Linked DNA regions of Homo sapiens: regions 1, 2 and 4 are each linked to region 3. The links are contacts of gene promoters, found by promoter capture Hi-C in blood cells and fetal thymus (Javierre and others, 2016). All regions are on one chromosome and are shown on one strand. The core of a region is centred on a gene start or on the middle of the fragment in contact, and the rest is flanking DNA. Distances in the headings are between cores, read along the strand shown.

Region 1 (3,530 bases), core at 312-2,811, 520 kb before region 3:
GGTAAATTTCCATGTATTAATGCAAGAGGAGGTCCAGAATACAATGCAAAGTGAAAAAAGTTGCAAAACAGTACATATAATATCCCATTTCATTTAAAAAAAACCTATATACAAATGTGTGGGTATTCATATATGTATATATGTGTATATTAATATATAAACACAAACAGAACAACATCTGGGAAGACACACACCAAATTAAGTTATTCTTGGAGAATGGGAGTGGTGAGAGGGACTAAGGAAAAATCTTTCACTTTTTACTTTACACATTTATGTTTTGCTTGAATTTTGTTGGCTAACATTAATAATTTTTGAATTTTTATCACAATAAAACATTTTAACAAAATAGGCACTTTTGTAATCAGATCAATAGAGTTATAATGTATGTGTTTTAAATAAAAATAGCTCCATGGGGGCTGGGCGTAGTGGCTCACACCTGTAATCAATCCCAGCACTTTGGGAGGTCGAGGTGGGCAGATCATACGGTCAGGAGTTTGAGACCAGCCTGGCCAATATGGTGAAACCCCGCTTCTACTAAAAATACAAAAATTAGCCGGGCGTGGTGGCATGCCCCTGTAGTCCCAGCTACTCTGGAGGCTGAGGCAGGAGAATCGCTTGAACCTGGGAGGCACAGGTTGCAGTGAGCCAAGATCACACCACTGCACTCTGGCCTGAGCGACAGAGCAAGATTCCCTCTCAAAAAATAAATAAATAACGCCATGGGGTGACTACTTCATTTTAAAATTTTAGCTAGAAGACTTAGGATACAATTAGAACAACTGTAAACCAAATCAACTCTGAGTTTCAATGGGGGTATACTCATGACTTGATATAACAGGATGTGGGCAAACAAAATCTAATCAGGATAATCGTTCATTTCTGAAAGAGAAAACTACACTACAGCAAACTCCATCATATAAAGGAAAAATTGTGCTTTCACTTTTTTGGTGGCATCACCTCCAATGTTTACTCAACTCCTTGGCAAGGGTGGGAAATCATAAAAAGCTAGAGATTTAAGATACCTCAGAGATCATTTGGTCAAAATCCCTCATTTAGTCGAAATCCCTCATTGTATAGTTCAGAAAACAGGCCTAAAATGGTGAAGCAATTCAACTAAGGTCCTATAGCTAGCTATATAGCCAATTTTAGAAGTCAGGTTTCTATTCCAGGTCTGGTACTCTTTCTGTTTCTTTTCAGATCTTCCTGAGTCTTCAGTATGATGAAATTATGAAATATTTTTAAATTTTATGATTAGACATCCCTATATTTAAATGTTACAACAAAAATGCCTAACAAAATTAAAATGTACATGCCTCCATTAGTACAGATGATGAAAAGTTCACTGTATCTAGACAAAAAATATTATTGGTATAACATTCTCTTGAAAAGTAATACATAAATCAGGCCAGGTACAGTGGCTTACGCCTGTAATCCCAGCACTTTGGGAGGCCGAGGCAGGCAGATCACTTGAGCTCAGGAGTTCGAAACCAGCCTGGCCAACGTGGTGAAACCCCGTCTCTACTAAAAATACAAAAATTAGCCGGGTATGGTGGTGCCACGCTTGTAGTCCCAGCTACTCGGGAAGCTGAGGCAGGAGGATCGCTTGAACCTGGGAGGCAGAGATTGCAGTGAGCTGAGATCACGCCACTGCACTCCAGCCTGGACAACACTGTGAGACTCCATCTCAAAAAATATATATATACATATTTTTTTTCTGTGAATCTGAATGTATTTTACTGTTTACCTAAGAACTACTGTTTTATCCCAATTTCTAACTGTTCTTCAACTGGCACTGCCTCTTAACCCTTTATCTTTAGTTTCTTTATATCAAGCAGTTGATGACCTATATAAAAACACTTAAAACCACCACAGGAAACACCTATTTAAAGGAAGCCTGCAGTGATTTAAAGAATTCTTTTTTGATGTTGACAATTATCCCTGGTTTGTCTGTTTTATAAGGAATGAGTTCTCTGTTTTTAAATGCATAGACAGACAGGGTATGGACAGAAGAAATAAAATAGGCAACAACTGGTTTTTGTACAAACAAGGTAAAAAAAGAAGATAAGAATGAGGGGTGGTGGGTGGTCAGGAAGGGAGTGGCAGAGAACCACATGCTAAATTAGTCACTAAGACTTTATATTTCAAAAGTAAACTCAAATACTAAGATATATAAATGGAATAACAACTACCTAACCTTCAGGCTGTAATTAAAGTGTTGTCCAATTTAAGACTCTACAACTTGAGGACATGTGAGGGCCTTGGAGAGATTTCAGAATAATAAAAAGATAAAAGGGTTAAAAATGAGCCAAGTAAGGAAAAATTAGAACTTATTATATCTAAGAAGAGAATACTAAGGGTGACTCAACAGTTTTCAAGGATATGAAGAAATATCCATTTCAGTGAGCAGCTGTTCTACATTTCCACAAAAGAAAGTAATTTTACTTAAATTATTACAGCATATATTTCAACATAGAAGTAGGAATATCTTCAACATAGAAGTATCTCATGTAGGATAACTATCAACTCCAGAGAAGCCTGAATGTTATCCACCTCTCCCACCTTTACTGGCTTAATTCCTTGTCTCAAAGAATGGGTCAAAGGGTAGATAAGGCATCTTTGGAATGTGAAGATTTAGACTTCTTTTGGGTCTAGCTATGTTCAAAATTTTTCGTTAGCCTCTGTCCCCCAGGTTCCAGCATAAGGTTAAGCCCTTTCTGCACTATAGATAAAGGGGATTAATTAGTGGTAAACATGCAAATACCCATGTAAATTAGAATTCCTTATCAAAGAAAAGTATGCTTCTCCTCAGTGTTAATGGGTAAGAGGGTTTGGATTTAGGATTCTTGCCTGGCCCAGTTAATGTGCCAAAATGGCCAATTTGACATCCAAGGGAGATTTACCTGGCCTGATATTTTTAAAAAAGAAAAAGACTGGACAACTAACCAGATGTGCCTGAATCTCTTACTCTGTCTCTAGCATTTTCCTGCCTTGTATAGACATCTCTTCATTTTGTTTTGAGGCTGGAGTGCAGTGGTACAATCATGGCTCACTGCATGGCTCACTCCACAACCTCCTGGGCTCAAGCAATCCTCCGGCTTCAGCCTCCCAAGTAGCTGGGACTATCATGTGCCACCATACCTGGCCAGATTTTTAATTTTTTTTTTTTTTTTTTTTTGTAGAGATGAGATCTCACTCGGTTGCCCAGGCTAGTCTCCAACTCCTGGGCTCAAGCAATCCTCCCAAAGTGCTGGGATTACAGGCATAAGCCACCACGCCCAGCTAAACATCTCTTCAACTGAACTCTTAAGGTCTACGAAAAAAGAGAATGTAATATCATATTTTACTTGTACCACAACCACTCCACCCTATCCCCAGCCCTGCTGTTAGCATAGGACCAGACACACAGAAGACTATTAGCACTTGTTAAATGAGTTGTCATCTGTCCAAATTTTTGTTAACACTTTATTTTATAGCTGCTTTTCTATTTATTCTGCAGTTCATTCTCTAACACTGCTGCCTATGAAGGTTGC
Region 2 (3,578 bases), core at 587-3,086, 540 kb before region 3:
GCAAAGATATTTGAATGGTCAATAAGCACATGAAAAAGTGCTTGACATCATTAATACTCAGGGAAATGCATATTAAAACTACAATGAGCCAGGCACAGTGGCTCACACCTGTAATCTGAGCATTTTGGGAGGCCGAGGCAGGTGGATCACTTGAGCCCAAGAGTTCCAGACCAGCCTGGGCAACATGGTGAAGCCCTGCCTCTACAAAAAACAAAGCAAAAATTAGCTGGGTGTGGTGGCATGGCCTGTAGTCCCAGCTATTTGTACTACTGCACTCCAGCCTGGGATCCTATCTTTGGAAAAAAAAAAAAAAAAAACTACAATGAGATACTACTACACACCCACCAGAATGGCTAAAATGTTAAAAGACTGACCATACCAAGTGTTCGAGAGAATGAAAAACTACTAGAATTCTCATATATTGCTAGTGGGAATAAAAAATGGTACAACCTGTTTAGAGAATTACTTAGAAGTTTCTTATAAATTTAAATACACATCTATCCTATAGTCTAGCAATTCCACTTCTAGGTATTTACAAAAAAAAAAAAAAAAAGGAAGCATATGTTTATAAAAAGACTTGTACCAGAATGTTTACTTCAGCTTTATTCATAGTAGCCAAAAACTGTAAATAATCCAAATGTCCATCAATAATAGAATGGATACGCTGGTTACGGCGGCTCATGCCTGTAATCCCAGCACTTTGGGAGGCCAAGGCAGGACCTAAGGTCAGGAGTTTGAGACCAGCCTGGCCAACATGGTGAAACCCCATCTCTACTAAAAAGTACAAAATTAGCTGGGTGTGGTAGCACATACCTGTAGTCCCAGCTACTCAGGAGGCTGAGACAGGAGAATCGTTTGAATCTGGGAGGTGGAGGCTACAGTGAGCCGAGATCATGCCACTGCACTCCAGCCTGGGCAAGACACAGCAAGACTCTGTCTCAAAAAAAAAAAAAAAAAAAAAAAAAAAAGAACAGAATGGATAAACTAGCATAGTCATACAATAGAATGCTACTCAGCACTGAAAAGGAACAAACTTGATACACACAATAACATGGATAAATCTCAAAAACATTATGCTGAGCAAGGCCAGGTACAGTGGCTCATGCCTGTAATCCCAGCACTTTGGGAGGCCAAGGCAGGTGGATCATTTGAAGCCAGGAGTTCAAGACCAGCCTGACCAACATGGCAAAATCCCATCTCTACTAAAAATACAAAAATTAGCTGAGCATGGTGGCACATCCCTTTAATCCCAACTACTTGGGAGGCTGAGGCACAAGAATTGCTTGAACCTGGGAAGCAGAGGTTGCAGTGAGCTGAGATCGTGCCACTGCATTCCAGCCTGGGTGATGTAATGAGAGTCTGTCTCGAAAATAAATAAAATAAAATAATATTACATTCTCACAATGAAATGCTATACAGCCTTTTTTTATTTTTTAAGAAATGGGATCTCACTACGTTGTCCAGGCTATTCACAGACATGACCATAGGGCACTACAGCCTTGAACTCCTGGACTCAAGCGATCTTTCCACCTCAGCCTCCCAAAGAGCTGAGACTACAGGCACCATACCACTGTGCCCACCTTACAAAGCCACTTAAAACAATAGTGTAATCTATATTCATTGACATAGAAAAATGTCCAAAACGTACTGTTGAGTGAAAAAAAGGATTAAAAACAGCATGAAATAAAGAAAAATAAGTTAAACAAGATATTTTTCACCTATCATGTTGATAAGGATGAAAAAATGATTGATAAATGATAAAGATTGAAAAACGACCTAATTCTGGCAAGTATATGGGGAAAACACATTTTTATATACTGTTAGTGGAGTGTAAATTGGTAGATTCTATAGGGCTATATGACTATACTACTAAAATTGTAAATATGTTTATCATTTCACACAGCAATCCATTTCTAAAAATTTATCCCACAGTAATACTCACAGAGACACACAAAGATTTATGTACAAAGAGTATTGTTTTACATATAATCTATGCACAAAAAAGAATGCAGTAGTATTTGCAACAGTCAAACATTAGAACAATGCCTGTACAGTGAATCTGGCAAAATGAAATAATGGTCCATGTATACAATGGAACACCATGCACCTGTTAAAATCAATGAGTTGGCCGGCGAGGTGGCTCACACCTGTAATCCCAGCACTTTGGGAGGCTGAAGCGGGCAGATCACCTGAGGTCGGGAGTTCGAGACCAGGCTGGTCAACATGGTGAAACCCCATCTCTACTAAAAATACAAAAAATTAGCTGGGTGTGGCGGCAGGCACCTGTAATCCCAGCTACTTGGGAGACTGAGGAGGAAGAATCGCTTGAAACTGGGAGGCGGAGGTTGCAGTGAGCTGAGATCATGCTACTGCACTCCAGCCTGGGCTACAGAGCAAGACTCCATCTCAAAATAAGTAAAATAAAATAAAATAAAATAAAATGAGTTGGTGCTATGTGTAGTGAAACAATAAAAATGTCAAAAATAAAGTTTGGGCCGGGCACAGCGGCTCAGGCCTGTAATCCCAGCACTTTGGGAGGCTGATAGGGGGGGATCACCTGAGGTCAGGGGCTCGAGACCAGCCTGGCCAACATGGTGAAACCCCGTCTCTACTAAAAATACAAAAATTAGCCGGGCATGGTGGCACACACCTGTAGTCCCAGCTACACGGGAGGCTAAGGCAGAAGAATCGCTTAAACCCAGGAGGCGGAGGTTGCAGTGAGCCAAGATTGTGCCACTACCCTCCAGCCTGGATGACAGAGCGAGACTCTGTCAAAAAAAAAAAAAAAGTTGTGGACAGAGAATGAGATATTGGAATTGTATATTTTCAGATATAGAGTAATTCTGGGAAATGACAAAATCCAGAATGAGGCTAATAAATTTTCTTGCAGAAGTAGAGTGGAGAAGAGCACTAGAAATGGTCAAGGAGCTGTGAAGGTAGAGTGTTGCTTGGCCAGTTCATCCACAGGAGCATTGTGATGGGCTGGGAGGTAGAGAGCAGATGCTCAAGTCTCCATAGAATATCAGGAAATATTCAAGAAGGCAATAAATGACTACATCGAGAAGGAATAAAAGGTAATATTGCAAAAGGCATGAGCCTTAAAAGAGAGGCCTTTAATGTGAGGGTTGAAAGCAAAGGTCTAGAAGCAGTGATGAAGAGTAGGAATGATGATGACTTCTGGGAAACAAAAATTACAATGATTAATAACTCTCCAGTATCAGTGAGGTATAAGAAAACAGGCATTCATGTATGCTTGGTAAGAAGGTACATTAGAAAAAACTTTCTGGATAAAAATTTGGCAGTATTTATCAATTTTTTTAATGTTTGTGTCATTTGATTCAGCAGTTTCAAATCCACAAATCTATCCTACAAATATATTCACATGTACCCAAACATACATGTATTAGCATTTCACTGTGGCATTGTTTGTAAAACTGGAAACAACCTAAATATTCATCAGTAGGGATATTTGTTCAATCAGTTATGTGAGGCTTTCACTCAAGAACCATAGCAATACAGAGGGCACACCCTGGGAGAGAAGCCGGGTTTCAGTTAAAGCAAGCAAGTGGAGAGAGAAT
Region 3 (3,696 bases), core at 981-3,480:
TGTCTCTACTAAAAATACAAAAAAACTAGCCGGGAGTGGTGGCACACGCTTGTAATCCCAACTACATGCGAGGCTGAGACAGGAGAATCGCTTGAACCCGGGAGGCAGAGGTTGCAGTGAGCTGAGATCGTGCCATTGCATTCCAGCCTGGACAACAGAGTGAGATGTCATCTCAAAAAAAAAAAAAGACAAAGCCTGTGATCCCCAACACACCCATTCATGCTTGCTCCTCTTTTGCTTGTGACCTCTCTGCTTTCATTTACCCTTGTAGTCTCGGTTTTCATGTGGACCATTCTTTTCTTGGCTCTTGGGGGCAAAATTATTTTCCTTCCTGCTCTGTATAGTGGTCGAACTCTGCCACAAGCATCAGGGAGGAAGATATCAATTCATGATTGATATCATGAATTGATATCATGGCAAATGCTGTTTGCCAGTTTTCTCAGATATGAGAGGGAAGATTTTTTTCAGTAAAATTTTGCATGATTTAATTCCCAACTTCTTAAAGCCCTCATGTGGATTGGTGTTTGTTTCCTAAAAGATTATTATGGGAAGAAAGCCTACTCAAAAGTTTTTACTCCCATTCGCTTCTCTTGAAAAATCTACATTATTTCCAGTCTACTTCAGCTCCTCCTGCCTTCAATCTAAAGGAGTTGCTTGCACACCTTGAGTAAATGTGTGTAATTTCTGAACTGCCCATTTTAAGATTTGATTCCAAACCTATCCCATTCTTTTACTTGAAGCATATGCCTCTCAATTATAGCTAACATCCTGGTTCTTTGCCCAAGCCTCTGAGGCACAGTTATGTAATCCCCATTCTTATAAAGAGGCTTGTAGAGGTTAATTTGCAACTTCATTGTAGAGAGAGAGAGTAATCAGCCCCCTTTATCCAATTTTTTTATCAACTGAGAAAGTATCTGTATTTAGGTAGGCAATCTGGTGCTTAAGAGCAGGTTTTGGAACTAGAGTTGGAGTTTGAATCTCAGCTCTGCCACTTTTTTTTTTTTTTTTGAGATGGAGTCTCGCCCTGTCCCCATGCTGGAGTGCAATGGCACGATCTCGGCTCACTGCAACCTCCGCCTCCCAGGTTCCAGCGATTCTCCTGCCTCAGCCTCCCGAGTAGCTGGGATTACAGGCGCGGGCCACCACACGCGGCTATTTTTTTTTTTTTATCTTTAGTAGAGACGGGGTTTCACCATGTTGACCAGGCTGGTCTCAAGCTCCTGACTTCGTGATCCACCCGCCTCAGCCTCCCAAAGTGCTGGGGTTACAGGCGTGAGCCACTGTGCCCGGCCAGCTCTGCCACTTTCTAGCTGTGTGATCTCTAAAATGAGAGTGCTAACAGTTGCCTACTTTTTAAAGTGTTGTATGAATTAAGTCGTAAGACACTTGGAATAATGCTTAGCACAAAATAGTATCAAACGCAGGGACATTTTATGTGTGTTCTGTTACCCAAAGGCATACATTACGAAATATATAGATGCTCGCTGGAGAAACTGGCACAATCTAGAAAGCGCTGTTTTCCCCGTTTGTTTTTCTTGGTGTGTATGGAGTGAGTGCCAAAAAGCCTCAAGTAACCTTTTTTTATCTCCAGGGTTTGGAGGGTTCTGGAAGTAAACATCATAGTTCGCCGTTGCCAGGCGCTGTTGAGTTGCTGCCTTGCTCTTATCTAGGGGTCTAGATGGCCTTCCCTGCAACCCCCGCCCCCCTGCGCTCCCGCGTCCCCCCGCGCCCCGCCCTCCCCTCGGTGTTCCCGTCCACGCCCCTGCTCCCGCGCCTTCGCTCCAGTTCTCGTGCCCCCGCCCCTCCCCCCGCGCCCTTTCCCAGTGGTTGCAATAACGGACTTAGAGGTCTGGACAATTCAAGTAAGGAACAAGGCTCGCTTATCCAAGTTCTCGCAGGATAAAAGTTTGTTATGAACGATTTCACATGGTTTCTCTTTATCAGAAAGTTGTTAGGGACTTTTAATCGCAGAATTGGCCTCGGGTGCCCACGCTCTAGTATTGAAATGGCGGTTTTGGGACAAATAAGCAACATCCGTGGGAGTGGAAAGCGACAGACCTGATCCCGGAAGCGTTACAGCTAGGCGCCAAGTTCACAGGCGCGAAGTTCAAATTTGTCTTGTGACCACTGTGATAGGTGGGTACAGGGGAGCGCGGGCGAGCACACGTGAATTACTGCTACCGCCCCCTAGGTCCGGGCACTATAAAGGGGCCTGCGCCTGGCGTTGTTCATCGCAGTTGCTCCGGATCTTTGCACACACTCCACGGGCAGTTGGAGGTGAGCTGCTGCCGGCCACGCCAGAGGCTGCAACACCAGGTAGGTGACCGGCTGGTCGGACTGAGATGGGTGCTGAAGTGGTCCAGAGGTTAATCCTAATTGAGTGACTTAATTAAAATCAGGACCACTGTATACCTTGGACTCTGGTTGCCCGTGTAGGCCTGAGGTGGGAGTAGAGGAAGTGGCAGCGAGGGGAGAAGTGGAGGCGCCAGTGGTAGCATTGGGGGAGGTGGGGGCGCCCATGGTGGTGTAGGAAACATATGGTGGCGCCAGTGGCGGCATTGGGAGGGGTGGGGGCGCCGGTGGCGGCGTAGGAGCAGCTGGTAGTGCCAGTGGCGGCGTGGGGAGAAGGGGCGCTGGTGGCGTCATTGCAGATAGTGGGGGGCCTGGTGGTGGCGTAGAAGGAGGTGTTGGTGCCAGTGGCGGGTGGAGAGAAGTAGGGGCACCAGTGGCGGCGTTGGGGGAAGTGGGGGTGCCTGTGGCAGTGTCGGGGAAGTGGGGGTGCTGGTGGTGGTGTAGGAGCATGTGGTAGCACCAGTGACGGTGTGGGGAGAAGTAGGGGCACCATTGGCGGCCTTGGGGGAAGTGGGAGCGCTGGTGGTGGCGTAGGAGCGTGTGGTGGCGCCAGTGGCTATGTAGGAATACGTGGCGCCGGTGGCGGCGCGGGGAGAAGTGAGGGCGCTGGTTGCGGCACTGGGGGGAGGTGGGGGCCCCAGTGGTGGTGTAGGAACAGGTGGTGTCCCTAGTGGCGGGTGGGGAGAAGTAGGGATGCCAGTGGCAGCGTGGGGGGAGGTGGGGGTGCCAGTTGCGGCCTAGGAGTACTTGGTGGCGTTGGTGGCATAGGAGCACATAGTAGCGCTGGCGGTGTGGGGAGAAGTGGAGGCGCCGGTGGCCGCATTGAAGGTGGGGGTGCCAATGGGGGCGTTGAGGGAAGTGGGGGGTTCTGGTGGCGGCGTAGGAACACTTGGTGGTGGTGGAAGTGGCCTAGGAGCACGTGGTGGTGCTGGTGGGCGTGGGGAGAAGTGAGGATGCTGGTGGTGGCATTGGAGGTGGGGGTGCCAGTGGCTGTGGGGAGAAGTGGGGGTGCCCGTTGCAGCATTGGGGGGAGGTGGGAGCTAGTGGTTGTGGGTAGGGGTGTGTGTGTGGGGGTTGAGGTCTCTTTGGCTGAGGACTGAGTGGTGGTGGGAGACAGGAGTGGGGTAGGGCAGAAGTTGGATAGAAGTGTGGGGGAGTGGAAGCCTGCTTGGAAAACCGGTTGGGAGCAGTTGAAGGTGGCTGGAGGTGGTTGGAGGTGCGAGTGTGGGGGAAGGGTGGTGGGGTTGAGGCCTGATTGGTGGAAGACTGAGGTGAGAATGGTGGGGGTAGGGTCCAGACCTGATAGGAGGAAGGAGTTGGGGAGGGGTCAAGGCCTGTTTGGTC
Region 4 (3,364 bases), core at 377-2,876, 580 kb before region 3:
TTCCTTATCTGTGTTATCTTGAATTTTCTTGAGTTTCTTCAAAACAGCTATTTCAAATTCTCTGTCCGAAAGATCACATATCTCTGTCTCTCCAGGCTTGGTCCTTGGTGCCTTATTTAGTTCATTTGGGAAGATCATGTTTTCCTAAATGGTCTTCGTGCTTGTGCATGTTCGTCAGTGTCTAAGTATTGAAATGTTAGGTGTTTAGTAGTCTTTGTAGTCTGGGCTTGTTCATACCCGTCCTTCTTGGGAAACTTTCCAGGTATTCGAAGGGACTTTGGGTGTTGTGATCTAAGTTTTTGGTCACTGTAGTCACATCTACGTTAGGGGGCACCCCAAGCTCAGTAACACTGTGGCTCTTGCAGACTCATTGAGGTACTGCCTTGGTGGTCTTGGATCAGATCCGAAAGAATTCTCTGGATTACCAGACAGAAACTTTTTTTCTCTGCCCTTACTTTTACCCAAACAAACAGAGTCTCTCTCTCTCTCTCTCTTCTCTCTCTCTCTCTCTCTCTCTCTCTGTCTCTGTGCCGAGATGCCTGCAGCTGAGGGAGGGCAGAAATGCTTTTTTAAGTTACCACCCAGTTCTAAAGTTGCACTTTGATTAACTTGGTTATTTCCTATGTTTTCATTAGCAACACAGTTGTAAACCACTTCTCCACATAGTTAATCTCATCTCTTAAATGACAGTTATTATTAAAATTTCAATGAGTAATTCTTTTTCTGAGTTCTTAGTTTCCTATATACTTATTACAGCATTAATCATGTTACCTGACAATACCTACTCACTAATCAATTCCCAGTGAGAATTGTTAGACACTTATATCCAGTAGCAAGAAAGAAAAAAATTAAAATCCTTAAGACAAATAGTTAGGGATATGCTTTCAAATCTGGGATGTACAGTAATTGAAAGTGTGAGCCTCCTTGGCAACTCCCAGAGGACATACATTAACAGTAATCAATCCACTGTGTGGCTTGTTACATAAGTACTATAGAAGCCTTGGGAACATTTGGAATCTGACAGAAGCCTTATGGAAGTGGTTCCATGGGGGTTGGCTATTTGCATATTTTCCTCCTATTACAGATAAGGGAAAAAAGACTGAAAGAATATATACCAAAATGTTAATATTGATTATTCCTGGGGAGTAGGGCTGCCAGTTTTCTTTTATTTTTTATCTGTATTATCTAAAATTTCTAAAATAAATATAACTATTATAAGAAAATTCCAAATAATAAAAGTCCAAAAAGATGGTTTGTTTTAACAGTAAGTAAGCTGAGTTGCATTTTCTACCATCTGTTTCAGTCAGGGAAATGAATAACATCTTCTAGGGCAAAGTAACAGGGTAAATGGAGACCCAGAGAAAGACTGATTGTTCTCTATGATAAGCATTCTCTAGAACATAAAAGGAAGTAATGAACAGGACTCCAAGCTTTGTTCTTTTGTGTCTCACTCCCTCTCGATTCTTCTCTGGCTTTGTTCCACACTCTGAACATCCTAAATCAACTTACAAGTGGTGGTCACCAAAAGAATCTACAAGGAAGATTGTCTCTCTAGACTCTGATTCCATCAAATATCCCCTTTCTCTTCTATTTTCCACATTTTCTTATATACCTACAGACAGGCTTAACGTTTCCCCATTCTAAAACAAAGTTAAAACACTATTTCTCCCCTATCTCGTTACAAACTACCATCCTTTCTACCTCCTTCCTTTCATAGCCAGATTTCTGGAACAATTAATCTACAACCACTGTCCTTTCGCCCTGTCCATTTGTTCAATTTGCTGCAGTCTGCCTTCTGCCGTGACTCCAACAAACTTTAAAGGAAAGCTTCCTAGTTGCTGAACTTATTGGCCCATATTTATACAGCCTAAGGCGATTGGTTGCTCTTATTTCCCAGAAGTTCTTCTTGGCCTCTGGGAAGAAAGGAGTGAAATGGGAAGAAATGACACTACTGTCTCTTCATTTTTTTTTCTTACCTTTCCCTTTCAGACTTCCCTCTTCTGTTCAACACTTATTCATTGGGATTCCCTAGGGTTATGTCCTAGTCTCTTATCTTCTTACACCACCTGGAACAAAGTTTATCTACTTACACAGCTTCAACTATCATCTATACAATGACAGATTGCAAAATTTTTTTTACAGTTAAATCTAAGTTGCTTTATTCTTTTTTTTTTTTATATATATACTTTAAGTTTTAGGGTACATGTGCACAATGTGCAGGTTAGTTACATATGTATACATGTGCCATGCTGGTGTGCTGCACCCATTAACTCGTCATTTAACATTAGGTATATCTCCTAATGCTATCCCTCCCCTCTCCCCCGACCCCACAACAGTCCCCAGAGTGTGATGTTCCCCTTCCTGTGTCCATGTGTTCTCATTGTTCAATTCCCATCTATGAGTGAGAACATGCAGTGTTTGGTTTTTTGTCCTTGCGATAGTTTACTGAGAATGATGATTTCCAATTTCATCCATGGAAATTTTTAATAATAGCCTCGAACTCTTGCTTAAGCTCTAGATTTGTATTTCCAAATTACAATTAAGCATCTTTACCTACAGGTTACAAAGAGGTACCCTAAGCTCCACTAGTCTAAAATCAGACTTACCTTCTCTACTGCCACAATTTACTAAATTCTTGAATTACATTCTCATTCACAATCGCAAGCCATGTTCCTAAGCTAGAAGCTTTTGCTTTTGCCTTAATTATCCCTTCTCCCTAACGCTGCACATCTAATCAATCAGCATACAGTCCTGTTGATTTTAACTCATAAATATCATTCTGTCAAGCCTAGCCTTTCCCCCATACTGCCTCGATCTTGGTTCAGACTCTCATAATGTCCAGCTTGGACTATTACGTCTGCTAAGTAGTCCTGCCACCAATCTCTCTCCATTCTACACCTGTTCAACTTCCACACTACTTTCGAAATGATCTTTACAAAACAAAACTCACTCTTTTGACTCCTCGGTGCCTACAGGATAAAACACAACTCCTTGGTCTAGCATGTTAGGATTCAGTCCAGGTTGTTAGCCTCACGCTCTACTCCACCCCCAAACTCCTGCATGCTAAGCTTCTCACCATTCCACAAACACAGCAGGCCCTATAATGTCTCCATGTCTTCACACATTGTATCCTGTCCTCTTAGAATGTCCTTTTCTTTCTTCCTCACCTGACAATGTCCTACTCATCCTTTAGTATGTGTCTTCTTGGGAAAGACAAACTAGCTATTATTTATCAAGGAGTTTTGCTAAACAATTTATGTTCATTAGCTTATTTTAATCCTCAATCAATTCTATAACTACTATTATCATTTTACAGATGAAAAAGCTGAGATTTAAAGGGGCTAAATAGCATTGTCATCTAGTA

The links. Contacts are between HindIII fragments. The CHiCAGO score rates a contact against its expected background, and 5 or more counts as called.
Region 1: a fragment that was not itself captured here is called in contact with the fragment with the promoter of GCNA in region 3 in 1 of 17 cell types (non-activated CD4 T cells); the score reaches 5.6 in non-activated CD4 T cells.
Region 2: a fragment that was not itself captured here is called in contact with the fragment with the promoter of GCNA in region 3 in 1 of 17 cell types (non-activated CD4 T cells); the score reaches 5.2 in non-activated CD4 T cells.
Region 4: a fragment that was not itself captured here is called in contact with the fragment with the promoter of GCNA in region 3 in 1 of 17 cell types (naive B cells); the score reaches 5.1 in naive B cells.

Annotation. Positions count from the first base shown.
Region 1 is chrX:71,054,693-71,058,222 of GRCh38, forward strand. No RefSeq gene overlaps it. Among named protein-coding and RNA genes, the nearest start is that of SNX12, 12 kb to the right of the region's middle. The HindIII fragment of the contact is 5,418 bases long and covers 1-3,530 here.
Region 2 is chrX:71,035,435-71,039,012 of GRCh38, forward strand. No RefSeq gene overlaps it. Among named protein-coding and RNA genes, the nearest start is that of SNX12, 31 kb to the right of the region's middle. The HindIII fragment of the contact is 4,300 bases long and covers 1-3,578 here.
Region 3 is chrX:71,576,207-71,579,902 of GRCh38, forward strand. GCNA (germ cell nuclear acidic peptidase) reads left to right here and starts at 2,231. Exons shown (of 13, transcript NM_052957.5): 1 at 2,231-2,316. RefSeq lists an enhancer at 2,438-3,079. The HindIII fragment of the contact is 6,206 bases long and covers 1-3,696 here.
Region 4 is chrX:70,998,330-71,001,693 of GRCh38, forward strand. No RefSeq gene overlaps it. Among named protein-coding and RNA genes, the nearest start is that of SNX12, 68 kb to the right of the region's middle. The HindIII fragment of the contact is 397 bases long and covers 1,429-1,825 here.